Linked DNA regions of Homo sapiens: region 1 is linked to region 2. The links are contacts of gene promoters, found by promoter capture Hi-C in blood cells and fetal thymus (Javierre and others, 2016). All regions are on one chromosome and are shown on one strand. The core of a region is centred on a gene start or on the middle of the fragment in contact, and the rest is flanking DNA. Distances in the headings are between cores, read along the strand shown.

Region 1 (2,711 bases), core at 110-2,609, 270 kb before region 2:
GTATAAATTTGAGATGCCGTTGTTTCATGCCAAGAAGGTAAAATTAGATCTACTGGTTATATGCTTGATAGTTTACAAGGTATTTTCACATACCTCATCTCATTTTATTTTTCCTGTTCACTATGAGAGTGGTAAGGCAGGATTACTGTAAAGCTTTGGCTCTGCCGTTTACTGCCCTGTGGCACTGGGCAAGTGACTTGACATCTCTGATCATCTATTTTCTTAATTTTGCCTTTGCTTTAAAGGTCACTATGCTATATGTTGAAATATAGGAAAAAATGAGTTTATAAACCTGCATTCTTATCTGGGAAGACCCCTTATGTCTTGGGGTTCCCGAATGGGGAAAGTTTCCCTGTTCCAATATAGCATCAATTCCATTATACTTCCAAAGGTTTTCCTTATTCCTACTTTCTTACTTCTCAGGGGACACCCTGGAGTTACTGCCCCCACTGTCAATGGTGAAACCAGGGAGGGGAGGGCACCAAGAGGGCTTTCTGATGTGGTGTGAGCAATATATGATGGAGGACAGGAGGTAATTTAATATGCTCTCAAGTATGGGTTTATTGACCATATCAAATGTAGTTTTGCTTTCTCCAAGTCCAAAATTCAGGCTCTTTTTCTTCTTCATGCTTAATTACAAGTGTTTTTAATTAGATGAATTCCATTAATGGCCAATTAAGTTTCAATTTAGAGGTCATATATGAACACTGGCAGACCCATCACAGCTTTGGCTCTCTGCAAAGTGACCTGGGTCTGGGCTTCCATCTGCTTAATGTTGCTTTGCCCATTAAGAGAAGTTAATGCTTCGCTAATTGTTTGCCTTGGGAGAGAAGCCAACTTCTCTCCTTCCCTCAGCAGCCTGCACTTACACAACTATGATAAGAGCTGTCAGCCGGGAAGGGAAGAGAATAGGCATAAGGAGAGGGGAGGTCCAGGGTGCTATCAAGAGAGGAAGGGAGCCCAGAGGAATGGACTATCAGAAGGATTTAGAGTGGCTGTGGCTTGAGAGCTGGCAGAGGCTCAGCTTATGGCTATGTCTCATGAAGACGGTGATAGTTTGAGTTTGTCGGGTCAGTACCTGGAGGATGCTTAGGTGGTTTTGTAGGTGATTTGCCTGGTATTAGCATATGCTGCAGGTCAACTGAGAGACCTGGGGGCTGTTGGCACCATTCAGATTACTGTCTTATAATTGCCAAAATATTGCAATCTGAGGAAGGCAATTGGGGATTTTCCTTAATTAGTACATATTTACTATGTGATAGATACTGTTATAAGCACTTTAGCTGAATTATATCTTATAATTGTTACCATATTCTATAGTAGGTAATATTTTTATTTCTTTGGTTTTTTTTTCTTTTTTTTTTTTGAGATGGAGTCTCGCTCTGTCACCAGGCTGGAATGCAGTGGCGCCATCTTGGCTCACTGCAACCTCTGCCTCCTGGGTTCAAGCGATTCTCCTGCCTCAGCCTCTCAGCCTCCTGAGTAGCTGGAATTACAGGCCTTTGCCACCACGCCCAACTAACTTTTGCATTTTTAGTAGCAAGGGGGTTTCACCATGTTGGACAGGATGGTCTCGATCTCTTGACCTTGTGATCCACCCAACTTGGCCTCCCAGAGTGCTGGGATTGCAGGCATGAGCCACCGCACCGGCCTTTATTTCTATTTTACAGAAGTAACTGAGGCACAGAGAGGTTGAACACTTTTGGAAAGAGTGGGAATGGAATGCAACACCCGACTGCAGCTCCATGAAACTTGGGCCCATGATGAGTTCACACTAGCACAATGCCTGAGTGATTGAAAGAGTCACAGAGTCTTTTTATCCAAAAGGGTGAGATGTTTATTTTTGCTTAGTAAGATTAAAAAAAAAGCAAACATGGCTTTTTATGTCAAGCAGTGAAGCCACATGGCCACCAACAAATTTCCACACAAAGGTAATACTCTAACCTTAGACAGCTGGAGGAAAAGGGGATAAAAGGACACAAAAGGAACAGGACAGCGGCAGGTACAGAATCCTCTGTTACATACATATTCAACGTTAAATAATAGGGGGTGTTTATTGAAACAGAGAGTAAAAAACTCTATGGCATGTCTTCTCCTTGTCACCGTCATTCCTTCTAGTTTTCCTGAAGCGGCATCATTTTTCTGGGGAAATATTTGAGGTTCATTGTCTTGTACTAAGAAGGTGGAAGACAGATACACCAGGAGTAGGCTTAAGAGCGGAAAGTTTAATAGGCTAAAGAAAGAAGAGAGAGCTTCCTTGTGCAGGTGAAGGGGACCCAAGTGGGTTTCAGGGTTTGGGGCAAGATGCGGTTGGTTTTATAGAGGAGCTTGAGGAGGTGGTGTTTGATTTACACAGGGCATAGTGGATTGGTTGGACCAGGTGTGCTGTTTACATAGCCAGAGAAGGGGATGGCTATCCCACCCTAATCTTTTACTATGCAAATGAAGTCTTTACCTGGCTGGCACCACGACACCTGTACATGTGGCTACAAAGAAAAGGGTAGAGAAAATCTCTATGTTAAACATACCTGGCTTCCAGGTATCCATTTTCTATTGGCATAGCTACAAGCTTTTAGCTTGCTTATCTATGCTTGCAGCTTGATTTTTTAGGCTGCTTTTTTTTTTTTTTTTTTTTTTTTTTTGAGATGGAGCTTCACTCTTGTCACCCAGGCTGGAAGGCTGGAGTGCAATGGTGCGATCTCAGCTCACTG
Region 2 (2,700 bases), core at 51-2,550:
AATAAACATAAATATTATTCTACTAGTTGACCTTGTGGAATTTCTAGGTCCAAGAAGCAAAATGAATTTAGTTCATTCACTCATTCACTACATAACTATTCACCAAACATCTTACATGTGTCAGGGCAGGGTACTTTGTTTAGCACAAGAAAAAAAGAGAGAGAATCAGAAATGAATAAGCTAGAGAAAGTTCCAAATTAGAGACTGTGGGGTTCTGTCTCCAAAAATAAAAGATTAATTCTATTGCAGGTAAGCAGAAGCTTATGACACCAAAAGCAAGACATAAGGAATGTTCATATACAATTCAACATATATTCTTTGTCATCTACTCTGTGCCCATTAATCATAATGGTCTTGTGAGAAATATTTTGTAAATCCTTATCTTTGCAAAGCATGTGACAAAGTTTCATATTCCATTCTTGTTATAAAGATGGAGAAATATAGGTAGGGTATTTTAAATTGACTCATACTTTTAGAGTGAATTATTCAACAAATATTTGTTTTCCCGATACTATATACTTCCTGTTTTGAAATTATCTACATGAAAAAGACTAATTCTTGCCCGTTTGTGAGTTTATAACCTATCATAGAAGTGAGCCAACTATGAACAGAACATAAGGCAGCAAGTATTAAGTAGAATAAAAGATGTGCAGACAAATGACTTTGGAATTTCAGAGGGTGGATAAATTGTTCTGGATGGTCAAGGAACACTAGGCATTTCTTATTTGAATTATCTATTATAGGAGAGGGAGAATTTCAAGAGAGAGAGATATGAGTAAAAGATATTCCAGCCAAGGGGATTATATGTAGAAATCCTATATGGAACAGAGAACTGTTCAATTTGCCTGCAGACCGGCCATATAGTTATGGTGATCTTGAACATCAGAAATTTGAACTTGGTACTGTAAGCCATGGGAATCAGTAAGGATTTTGGATTGGGGAAATGCACCTAGTGCTTATTGATGCACTGGTATTAGCTTGGAAAAGAGTCTGCACTGATCAGCACCTTTGTCATTTCTTGAATTAAGATGTAAAAGGCATGGTGCCAGAAGAGGAAACGGAGGCTGGGGGAGATAACAACCCATGTCAGGTCACAAGAGCAGTTGACAGTATAATAGTTTGAACCAGGATGTACTACTCATGACTTGTTAGCGATCTTTATGCTGCTATATCTGATCTTTATCAATTTATTATGAGGCTAAGTCAGGAAATGTAATTTCTCTATTTTACTGATGAGAATGTTGAGGAGGTCAAGCCACTTGTTCTGGCTCATGCAAGTAAGCAGGACAGATGGGAACACAACTGCAATCATGAGTCTTCAGAACACCTTATGTTCACATTCCCTCATAGTGCCACAGACCCTCCTTTTCTTGTGAACTGGATAATCACATACCTGCAGCCCCCTTCCCTTATTGATATCACCTTCAAAAATTGAAGAAATGTCAACATTGGGGAAGAAGAACACAGGTAATACAAAGATGTTTTTTGTTTCTGTCTCTAACCTGACCTTTATTTAAAAAAACAAACAATGGAAACTTACAGTTGTTCTGCAGGAGTTTGTCCAGGGAATCACGCCACTGCAGGGCCTCGTCCAGCGAGGTTCTACATCAATAATAAGGAGAGAAAAGGGGTATGGCGTAAGTAGGCATTGAACCACATGTACCAGCAATAACTACTTCCTGTTTCTCTTAGATGGAAATGATATGACTGCTGGTCTATCCTCAGGACAAGGAAGTTTAAGTTATTTTCTCTCTAACAATTGGGTTTGATGAGCTGGGTTTGCTTTCATACATCTTTATTGCATATCTTCATCTTTTTTGAACATTTTGGTTAGGTCTTTCCCTTTTTAAAAGTAGAGTTCGTTTGACATTAAGCTGTGTCTTGATAGTCTTATGTATCCCATGAAAGTTGTTCCAACTGTGGTCTTTTTTCCAAATATAACTTCATGAAATCCAGTTGTCCCATTACAGAGATTGAACTCCTGTTCTCTGCCTCACCAATACTGCATGTTAACCACCTAACTGAATCAGCAGAGGGCATTGGGGTTCCACATCCACATCCCAAAGCTGTCTAATTAAGGATAGTGGAAGATGTGAGTGTATAATGCTTTCCTTATGTTGGGATTGTGATCATAGCAAATTTACATGTTAAAAACGTAGGCGCATTTTTCCTACCCACTTATAACAGGATCAGACTTTTTTTTAAAGATTTACTCTTTCTAATTTAAAAAAAAAAAGAGTGGTTAATATATCCTGAACAGGAATGTTATACACAAATGCTTGAGATGCTGACTCAAAAGGAGAAGGTTATAGCCAACATATAATTTCTCCTTAGGCTGTTTCTATTTTAACATTTATATATGCAGAAACCCTGAAGCTATTTCATCTCAACCACCAATTTTTCTCTCACAGCAGGATGTGTCAAGTGGAGCTGATATTGTCCGGGAAAAATGGCTGACTGCACACTCTTCGGCTCACCCAGCTCGAACTCTTGCATTATGATGTGAGTTCTTCGTTGCCAAATCAAAACAGACTGACAAAGCATTTACTAGAATATTAAGGCCAGTTTTTCCTAAACTGGAATTTCCTTAGCTCTTAATTTGTTTATCAACTGTCCAGGCAATCAAAAAAAATTCCTGCTTCTAGTTTTTATACAATGATATTTCGGGGGGGGGGGTGGTTAATTATTCAGATTTGCAGC

Evidence for each region. The method cuts DNA at HindIII sites, captures the fragments that hold promoters and counts their contacts. A CHiCAGO score of 5 or more calls a contact.
Region 1: a fragment that was not itself captured here is called in contact with the fragment with the promoter of RGS5-AS1 in region 2 in 5 of 17 cell types (M2 macrophages, monocytes, endothelial precursors and 2 more); the score reaches 16.9 in M2 macrophages.

What each region holds. Positions count from the first base shown.
Region 1 is chr1:162,889,374-162,892,084 of GRCh38, forward strand. No RefSeq gene overlaps it. Among named protein-coding and RNA genes, the nearest start is that of CCDC190, 30 kb to the left of the region's middle. The HindIII fragment of the contact is 2,416 bases long and covers 152-2,567 here.
Region 2 is chr1:163,160,375-163,163,074 of GRCh38, forward strand. It overlaps RGS5-AS1 (RGS5 antisense RNA 1), which reads left to right and starts at 1,301. Exons shown (of 4, transcript NR_110699.1): 1 at 1,301-1,467; 2 at 2,412-2,502. RGS5 (regulator of G protein signaling 5) reads right to left here. Exons shown (of 5, transcript NM_003617.4): 3 at 1,541-1,602. The HindIII fragment of the contact is 14,512 bases long and covers 259-2,700 here.